Linked DNA regions of Homo sapiens: region 2 is linked to region 1. Evidence: promoter capture Hi-C in human tissues and cell types (Jung and others, 2019). All regions are on one chromosome and are shown on one strand. The core of a region is centred on a gene start or on the middle of the fragment in contact, and the rest is flanking DNA. Distances in the headings are between cores, read along the strand shown. Region 1 holds the start of IFT52 (intraflagellar transport 52). Region 2 has its middle 7.6 kb from the start of CHD6.

Region 1 (5,258 bases), core at 1,873-4,372:
CCTTCCTCAAGTCTTGTTCACCCAGCCTCCTGCCCCAGGAATCACGGGGAAGAAGTCTGGGAGACCACAGAAAAAACACCAATGACACTGAGCTATTAGAGATCAAAACTGGGTCAGGAAGAGTTCATGTTAAGCTTTCACATGTGCTAAGAACGCTGAAAGATACACACTGATTTCCATCTTAATAGTGCCAGATAATTGACAAATTTGGGACAAGATGAGGGAGAGGTCAAAATCCCCCTAACTTCCCAAAGCAAAAAAACAGGAGTATAATGATCAGAAACGTAATAGTAGTGTCAGAAGCACACAATCAGCTGTGGACGGTGAAACATATAATGGTTCTATCTGTTCTGAGATTGTAAAAGCACAATTATTTTCATCAGGATAAAAAATAAAAATGAAAAACTATGCTGTTGAATGGAACATGCTACAACCTATGTTTATTGAGCACATTCCAAGTTTTATATGCATTATCTACAATCCTCACTATAAGCCAGCATTTAGAAATTATGAACTTCAGACTGGGCGCAGTGGCTCACGCCTGTAATCCCAGCACTCTGGGAGGCCAAGGCAGGCAATTCACGAGGTCAAGAGTTCAAGACCAGCCTAGCCAAAATGGTGAAACCCCGTTTTTACTAAGAATACAAAAATTAGCCGGGCATGGTGGCGGGTGCCTGTAATCCCAGCTACCTGAGAGACTGAGGCAGGAGAATTGCTTGAACCCAGGAAGCGAAGGTTGCAGTGAGCGGAGATCATGCCATTGCACTCCAGCCTGGGCAACAGAGCAAGACTCAGTTTCGGCAAAAAAAGAAAGAAAGAAAGAAATTATTAACTTCGCTTTACAGATAGGATACATTTGCTCAGAGATTATGAAAACTGCCCAAGGTCACCCAGCTGGTACAAGTCACAGCGAGGAATTGAACTTGGTGACAACTACTGATTCTAAAAGTCTTACTCTTGCTTTTTTGGGGGGGGAAGCGGGGACGGAGTTATGCTCTTGTTGCCCAGGCTGGAGTGCAATGGCGCAATCTCAGCTCACTGCAACCTCTGCCTCCTGGGTTCGAGTGATTCTCCTGCCTCAGTCTCCCAAGCAGCTGGGATTACAGGCGGCCGCCACCACACCCGGCTAATTTTTTGTATTTTTATTTTTATTTTATTTTTTATAGAGACGGGGTTTCACCATGTTGGTCAGGCTGGTCTCGAGCTCTTGACCTCAAGTGATCCACCTGCCTTGGCCTCCCAAAGTGCTGGGATTACAGGCGTGGGCCACTGCACCCGGCCAAAACTCTTACTCTTTCTGCAATCTCTAACAGTGGGAGAAATGCTCTGGGCAGGTGCTGTAGCAAACACTGACTGCATATCAGGCAGAAAGATCCCAAGATTTGTCCCAGCCTTCAAATGGGACGGCCTACTCTCTCTTCAGTGAGAATACTTCATTTCCATTATTACCCTAACTGCAAACTGTATTCACCCAATTCTGCACCAAAATACAGCATCCCCAAGAAGAGAACTTTTTTTTTTTAAGAGACAGAGTCTCACTCTGTTGCCCAGGCTGGGGTGCAGTGGAGCGATCATGGCTCACTGCAGCCCGAACTCCTGGGTTCCAGCGATCTTCCCACCTCAGCCTCCCAAGTAGCTAAGACTACAGGTGTGTGCCACCATGCCTGGCTAATTTTCTTTTTTTATTTATTATTACTATTATTATTGGAGAGAAAAGGTGTTACTGTTACCCAGGTCCCAGACTCCTGGCCTCAAGCAGTCCTCCCACCTTGGCCTCCCAAAATGCTGGGATTACAGGCAGAAGCCACTTCATCTGACCAAAGAGAATTCTCAAATCACCCTGTTCTCCACTTTCTTTTTGAGACAAGGTCTCACTGTGTTGCCTAGGCTAGAGTGCGGCGGCACCATGACGGCTCACTGCAGCCTCAACCTCCTAGGATCAATCAATCAATCCTCCCACCTCAGTCTCCCAAGCAGCTGGGACTACAGGCGCGCGCCACCACGCCCAGGTAATTTTTCCTATTTTTAGTAGATACCGGGTTTCGCCATGTTGCCTAGGCTGGCCTCAAACTCCTGGGCTAAAGAGATCCACCTGCCTCGGCCTCCCAAAGTGCTGGGATTACAGGAGAGAGCCGCTGCGCCCGGCCCGTCTCCACTTTTAAAATTTCCAGTGACAGAAATTGTGGAAAGCAACACGAGTTGTATGTGTTTTAATATCCTAGATTCGAAGACAAACATAAATGTAAATAAAAACTGTCAGAGCTCTCTGCAATCTTCAGTTTGGGTCTTCCAGGCTGCTGCAGCGTTGTTCACAAATCCACACACCTCTAAAGGCAGGCACAGAGCGCTTTCCTGGGTAGTCGGGTGGCCTGTTGGTAGTTGCAGGCTTCTGGTTTCCCATCTTAATGGCGATGGCAGGGCAACCTGTATTGGTGGTGCTTTTGCACAAGCAGTTCTTTCTGCCGGGAACGCCCTTCCCCAGCCTTTGCCTTAATGAATACCACTCTCTCTTCAAATCTCTGCTCAACAGGGGCGCCTTTTTGACCAGCTTAGTCGTTAGACTCCCTAATACAGTTCATAGTTTTCACATTTTTGTAGAATCTATTCAAGTTCTAACTCCCCGCCATGCTCGCCGGCGCTCAAGCCTAGTACCATGGCAAGCAAAGATGCGGAGTTAATAAAACAGAATTATACGGTTTATCATTCTCAACACTAAACCTGCGCACCCTTTTCCGTTAAGTAGTTCCTAATAGTCCAGCACAGCCTTCCGCCCGGCCCCGCCCTCGCCTGGCTCCACTCTGCTCCTGCGCTTTGGGAATCGAAGCTGGGGCGTTCTCCAACCCCCCCGCGCTGGAAGCCTTCACTATTCTCCTCCCTGTGGGTGGAGCGAAGTTTGGGCACTTGGGTCCTACCGTTGTTATTAGTCTTTACTCGTAATTGATACTAAAGAACAAAATTAAATGGGTTTATTTTTGGTGAAAAGTTAATTCTCCTTATGTTTGGATTTGCCCCTCATGCACCAAATGGTACAGCCCCACATCAGTCAGGCTGCCTACCCCTGACGCCTGCGACGGAGAGGCGCCTTCCGTGCTGTCGTCATCACGTCGGCCGGAGCTAGCGCTGCGTCCTGGGCCACGCCTCCCGGCGCACCGACGCGCCTCTCCGGTTACTAAGCGGCCTTGGATACCTGGCCGCGGGATGCTGGGCGGCGTCAGGTGAGCGGTGGTCGCTGGGCCTCAGGTAAAGGGCGCCAACAGTGGTGGGCCGGCTGGGGCGTTGGTGCGGCCTGGGAGCTGGCGAGGGACTCGCCGCACTCTTCGAGGCCGCTGGGCCGGTCATAGAACATCCAGGGTCCCCCGGGGTGAAGTAAACTGTGGGCGCGGACGTAGCCCGGGTTCCTGGCGCCCCGGCTGGGCGCCCATCTCCACGGCCTCGGGTGGTGCAGGTGTTTAGTCGTTCCGCTGACTATGAAAGAGCATGGGACGAGGAATCGTACAGTCTTAATCTCTCTTCTGTCGTGGCTGCGACCCCTCGGTATTCATGTGGGAAAATACTGATTTGACTGGTAATGTTATTGAAGAGAAAGCGAGAGAATGGTTTGGCAGCGTTACCCAAATATTTGTTATTTTTATAGTTTTAAAGGCCTTATACTATTATTAAGGAAATGCATTTCTGGCTAAGTCTGACAGTACAGGAACGCAGACCTGCTACTCTCACCAGGGGCTGAACTAACAGAACAAAAAAAGATAGATGTATCACGGTGGTGGGACCATGGAGGGGGCAGTTTTTCAACTGGACAAAATGATGTTAAAGTGCTTAAAGAAGGATAAATATGTGAAAGTAGCCAGGAAAATTCTAAAATTAATGCTAATAAGGGAGATTAGCTCTCCAGAACCACCAGATATTATAACATAAAGGTATAGCAATTAAACTAGCATAGAAGATGGGTGCAGCAGTGTGGGCCCGTAGTCCTGGCTACTTGGTAGGCTGAGGCGGCAGGATCCCTTGAGCCCAGGAGTCAGAGACCAGCATGGGTATCAAAAGGAAACCCTGTCTCTGAAAATAAATAAATTAATTTAAAAAGTTTGGGACTCAGCAGGAGCTTACAGGTAGATAAAATATATTAGAACTCAGAATAAGAGCGATTTATATATAGGGATTTATTATATAGGCGAGGTGGTACTGTATTTCAAATCAGCATTGAAGAGATGAATTGGGGTCAGGCAGCTTTTTTAGCAATTTAGAAAATAATTAAACCAGTCGAGCGAGGTGGCTCACACCTGTAATCCCAGCACTTTGGGAGGCCAAAGCGGGTGGATCACTTGAGGTCAGGAGTTCCAGACCAGCCTGGCCAACCTGGTGAAACACCGTCTCTACTATGGCGCGCGCCTGTAATCCCAGCTACTGGGGAGGCTGAGGCAGGAGAATTGCTTGAACTTGGGAGGCGGAGGTTGCAGCGAGCCGAGATTGCACCACTGCACTCCAGCCTGGGTGACAGAGCAAGACTATGCTTTGAAAAAGAAGGAAAAAAAAAAGGAATGAAGCCCATTTTGAGCACCACAATAATTTCCAAATGGACTAAAATTTAAATGTTAAAAAATTACATCACGAATTAGCCGGGTGTGTTTGGGCGCCTGTAGTCCCAGCCGCTTGGGAGGCTGAGGCACGAGAATCTCTTGAATCTGGGAGGCAGAGGTTGTGGTGAGCCGAGATCGTGCCACTGCACTCCAGCTTAGGCCACAGAGCAGACTCTCTCAAAAAAAAAAAAAAATTACATCATGAAGTACTGAAGTAAAGCATTGTTGAATTTATTTATAATCTTAGAATGACAAAAAACTCTTCTAAGTGTTTCATGTCATCCAGAAGCCAGGAAGGAAAAGATTCATACTTTTAACTCTATAAAATTTAAAATCTATATGGCCTGCAAAATTCAACCAAACCAAAAAAACTACCAGAAGCCAAATAAACTTATGAAAATGTTTGTTTAATGATCAATTAGAAAATTATGAAACCCGACTGGGTGCAGTGGCTCATGCCAGTAAACCAGCACTTTGGGAGGTTGAGGTAGGAGGATCACTTGAGGTCAGGAGTTCAAGGGCAACATAGCGAGACCTTGCTTCTACAAAAAATTTAAAAATTAGCTGGACACTGGTGCGCGCCTGTAGTCCCAGCTACCCATGAGGTTGAAGTGGGATGATTGCTTGAGCCTGGGAGGTCAAGGCTACAGTGAGTTGTGATTGCAGCACTGCACTCCCAGC
Region 2 (5,352 bases), core at 420-2,919, 2.0 Mb before region 1:
AATGGCGTGAACCTGGGAAAGGGAGCTTGCAGTGAGCCGAGATTGCACCACTGCACTCCAGTCTGGGCGACAGAGTGAGACTCCATCTCAAAAAAACAAACAAACAAAACAAAAAACAAAAAACAACAAAAAAACTGGTATCACTTAGGACTCAATTTGGCTGCATAAATATGAGAAAATGATATAATAAGATTAAAGTTTATTTCTGTCTTAAATAAAAGAAATTTGGGAAGCAGGCCGTCCAGGGGTGGCATGGCAGCTGTCCGGTACCTTCAGGAATCCAGGCTTCAATGTTTTTGCTCCATTATCCTTAGCTTTCATTCCCAAGGTCACTTCATGGTCCAAGATGGCTGCTGGAGCACCAGTCTACATGTCCTTGGAAGGAAAAAGGAAAGGCAAAGTGGAAAAAGTGGAGTTGAGTCCCTTAAACAACCTTCCTGGAAATACTACACATTTTACTTTTGTCTCATTGTCCAGAACTTGGTCACATGACCATGCCAAGCTGCAAAGGAGGCTAGGAAATCTGGTCTTTTATTTTGCTTTTCTATGTGCCAAGTTAAAAATTGGGTCTGTCACTAAAGAGTTGAGAGACTCAACTAGCAGTTTCTGGCATAATGCCCCACAGAAATAATGTTCCACAGAACCTAAATTGGGATAAAATGACTAAGTAAGGAGATTGATTTTTTAAACATTTTTAGCAGCTTTATTGTGGTATAATTCACATACCATACAATTTGCTTACTGCAAGTATACAGTTTGACGATGTTTAGTAAATTTATACAGTTGTGCAACCATCACCACAATCCAGTTTTAGAATATTTCTGTCACCCTCAGAAGTTCCTTGTTCCCTCTTGCTGTCAATCTCCACTCCCACCCCCAGGCCTGGGAAACCATTGATCTGCTTTCTTCTTTGGAGTTCTGCCTTTTTGAGAAATTTCGTATAAACAGAATAGTACAATATGTAGTCTTCTGTGTCTGGCTTATTTAATGTAATAATTGTGTGGTTCATTGTGTTGTAGAGTGTTTTGTCAGTTTGTACTTTTTAAAATTGCTTGAATGGCATTCCATTGTCTGCATATGCCACTCCATTGTCTGCATATGCCACCTTTTATTTATCACTTACTAAATGATGGACATTCGGATTGTTTCCACATTGGGACTATTATGAATAATGCTGCTATAAACCTTCAAGTAGAAGTCCTTGTGTGGACATATGTTGTCATTTCTCTTGGGTAGATGCCTAAGGAGACTGGTGTTTAAAACTGAATTCGTTCACTGAAAAGACATTTATTGAGTGCCTATTACTGACAAGTATTGTGCTAGATGCCAAGGATACAGTAGTGAATAAAATTTGACACAAACTCAGCCCTCATGGAGCTTGCAGTCTATAGAAGAGAAAGGCATTAGTCCAGTAGTCATGCGAACAAACGTAACATCACAGCAGTGGTAAGTGTGTGCTATAAAGGAGGGGTATAAGATGCTGTGAGAGATTATGCTAGAAGGATCTGCCTTTGTCAAGGAGGTCAGGAAAGCTGCCCTTGAGCTGAGTTCTGAAGTGTGTGAGAATGTAGTCACTCTGATTTCTGTCTTTCAAAGTAATATCTTAAGAAGCCATATACTTATTTCCAATAATGCTGCCCTTGCAAACATGTCTGAGCCAGTTTATAGACACACTGGTCTTGGGCCTATTTGTGCTTAGATAAAGTCTCTGTGTTTTAATCTCTCAGAGTTTTTGAAAACTGTGAAGCAAGCACAACGCACTGTCAGTAAAGGTACCTTTTCAGTCATCTCTCTCTCTCTCTTTTTTTTTTTCTTCAGAGACAGGATCTTGCTGTGTTGCCCAGGCCGGTCTCAAACTCCTAGACTCAAGCAATCCTTCTGCCTTGGCCTCCCCACACACTGGGATTACAGGCATGAGTCACTGCTCCCGGCCCATCTCTTATATTATTTTCTGTATGTTTGAAATATTTCATGATTAAACATCTTAAAAATATCCTTTTTAGTTCCCTTGAGAATTGTACCTGCCAAGCAGCCCAGCCTGTCTTGTCAGACCCTGACCTTGTTCTCTCTCTGTGGGAAGAGGAGACATGATCAGAAGGTGATTTCTGGAACCTGGAACTGAGGGGATGATGCTAATAGCCAGTATTCTGGAACTACACTGGTCCAATCCCTGTATCTCTACTGTAGGGGTGAATCTGCCACAAGGCATCCTCCTGCCAGAAGCTCCATTCTCCAGCACAAAGCTGGATAAGACTAGTTAAGCCCACAGGCTTTGAAGCCCTACAGATGTGGTTCAAATCTCAGCTCTACCACTAGTGTCCTTAAGAAAGTCACTTAACAGGCCAGGCATGGTGGCTCATGCCTGTAATCACAGCACTTTAGGAGGCTGAGGTGGGTGGAACACCCGAGGTCAGGAGTTTGAGACCAGCCTGGCCAACATGGTGAAACCCTGTCTCTACTAAAAATGGAAAAATTAGCTGGGCTTGGTGGCACACACCACTGTAATCCCAGCTACTCAGGAGGCTGAGGCAGGAGAATTGCTTGAACCTGCGAGATGGAGGTTGCAGTGAGCCAAGATTGTGCCACTGCATGCCAACCTGGGTGACAGAGTGAGACTCCATCTCAAAAAAAAGAAAAAAAAAGAAAGTCACTTAACTTACAGTTTCATGATTCCAATAATAGGGTTGTTGTGTGGATTAAATGATTCATGCAAAGTGCTTTGCACATGGCAACTGCTCAACAAATTGGTTATTAATATATAATTATCGCAGCCTTTCCTCTGCCTCCCATTTCCCCGTGTTCTGTATAGACTTTCCCCCTTTGTCGACCTGCAGGTTTTGAAACATATTAATTCCATTGATTTAACTGAAGTCAATCTCTGTTCTTGTGTTTGGCTTGGGGAACCTTCTGTCTTTTGGAGTGCCTTCTACTGATATATGGCCTCTACCCCTCATGTATTAATCTCACTGATTTAACTCTTACAGTGCCACAGAGCTCTCACTCTCACCCATGTATAGCACTACCGCTATTTTGATTTTTTAAATCCAAGGTTATATATAAAAATGACTGTGGTCCCTTTCAGTTACTATGATTTATGGAAAATCACACCTCAAATGTTCTTGGGCAGGATTTTTCAAAAACGCTGGTCACGCTACCCTGAAACAGCTTCGTAAATCCTTCATTCTTGCTCAGCAGTGTACTTTCCTGCAATGACCATTAGACAGTTTCAGCCATAAAAACTTGCTTAAGGCCGGGCGCTGTGGCTCATGCCTGTAATCCCAGCACTTTGGGAGGCCAAGGCGGGTGGATCACTTGAGGTCAGGAGTTCGAGACCAGCCTGGCCAACATGGTGAAACCCTGTCTCTACTAAAAATACAAAAATTAGCTGGGCATGGTGGTGTGCGCCTGTAACCCCAGCTGCTTGGGAGGCTGAGGCAGGAGAATCACCTAAACCTGGGAGGCGGAGGTTGCAGTGAGCTGAGATAGCACCATTGCACTCCAACCTGGGCAATAGAGCAACGCTCTGTCTCCAAAAACAAACAAACAAACAAACAAAAAAAAAAAAAAACAAAAAAAACCACAGCAACAAAAAAGTTCTTAAGCTTTTTACTAAGCCTCAAGTTGCTGTAGAATCCTTTTCTTTATGTGTGCAATTCTACCATCAACATTACTGACCAATTTGGTGAGGCTACCGTCTGAAAACTGGTAATAAAAATAAGCAACACAGTTTTACATACTAGAAACAAAAAACTATAGTTTTAAAAAATTAATTAGTTTCCATGTTTTTGCTGAGGTGAAGCATGGTAACTGTCCTTCCAGTTGGCCCCCAGTGATACTCACTTGCTGTGATTCAAACCCTTATACTGCCCTCTCCTGTACTGAATAGACCTGATTTATGTATGTAACCAGTAGGATATTGCAGAAGTGACAGAGTGTAACTTCCAATGCTAGTCATAAATGGCATTGCAGCATCTGTCTTGCTGTTTTGGGTAATTTGCAATGGGAAGAGTCCATTGTCATGACATGAGGACATTCAGTCAGCCTTATGGAAAAAGTCTTTGTGGCAAGAACTCAAGGCCTCTTGTCAGGAACCATGTGAATGGGCCATCTTGGAAGTAGATCCTCCATGCCTAGTCAAGCCTTCAGATGAGACTGCATCCATCCCCAGCCAACATTTTGACTGCAACCTCATGAAAACCTAAGTCACTCTCAAATTTCTGACCTATGAAAACTATGTGAGATAATAAATGTTTATTGTTGTTTTTAAGCCACCAAGCTTTGGAGATAATTTGTAATGCAGCAATAGATAACAGTATTTCCTTGGGTGATACAACTGACAGCCATCATTAAGTTACTGTATATTTAAAATGTGCTTTGTATAAATTTGCCCCACATTTTAAGTGTTTTCTTAACATATGATCTACATCCAGATATTTTAGGTTATTCTATGACTCATTTCAGTCCCATTCAGCAAACATGCTGTATTAGTCTGTTCTCACACTGCTATAAAGAACTACCTGAGACTGGGTAATTTAGCAAGAAAAGAGGTTTAATTGACTCACATTACTGCAGGCTGGACAGGAAGCATGATTGGGGAGGCCTCAGGAAACTTACAATCATGGTGGACGGGCAAAGGAGAAACAAGCACATATTCACGTGGCGGCAGGAGAGAGAGAGAGAAAGAGAGAGAAAGAGAAAGGGGAAGTGCTACACACTTTTAAACAACCAGATCTCATGGGAACTCATTCACTATCATGAGAACAAAAAGGAGGAAATCTGCCCCCATGAGTCAATCACCTCCCACCAGGTCCTTCCCCTAACATTGGGAATTACAATTCAACATGAGATTTGGTTGAGGACACAGAGCCAAACCGTATCACTTGCATTGCCTACTTGTATCAAAGCCTGTTCGTAACAGAAAACTCCAGATCAACCATCAGCAATTTGAACGAAACTGATGGCAGTAAGTTGTTTTTCTCCATCCAATTCCATTTATTGTGAATGATTCTTATGCTTTCATGATTGTAGTTAAATCTCTGGATGCCAGGAAGTCCAGCTCCTACCACTTCTTTTGCTTCTTTTTGGAATATATGCCAGAAGGGAATAAAGTTGAAGAGAATGATGCCCCCATGTTACTAAAACATGCACTGTTACATTGACAGTTCATAATAGCTAATTTTATTGCATAATTAATATGAACTAAGCACTGCTTTTAAAATTTTTAAAAATAATTTCAATTTTTATTTTAGATTCAGTGGGTACATGTGCAGGTTTGTTACATGTGAATATTGTGTGATGCTGAGGTTTGGGGTGTGAATGATCCCGTCACCCAGGTGGTAAGTATAGCACACA

Evidence for each region. Contacts are between HindIII fragments. The study calls those that stand out against the background at their distance.
Region 2: a fragment that was not itself captured here is called in contact with the fragment with the promoter of IFT52 in region 1 in 1 of the 25 tissues and cell types used here (dorsolateral prefrontal cortex).

Annotation. Positions count from the first base shown.
Region 1 is chr20:43,587,815-43,593,072 of GRCh38, forward strand. IFT52 (intraflagellar transport 52) reads left to right here and starts at 3,123. Exons shown (of 14, transcript NM_016004.5): 1 at 3,123-3,240. RefSeq lists an enhancer at 3,245-3,314. The HindIII fragment of the contact is 21,857 bases long and covers 1-5,258 here.
Region 2 is chr20:41,623,330-41,628,681 of GRCh38, forward strand. No RefSeq gene overlaps it. Among named protein-coding and RNA genes, the nearest start is that of CHD6, 7.6 kb to the left of the region's middle. The HindIII fragment of the contact is 4,539 bases long and covers 1-3,939 here.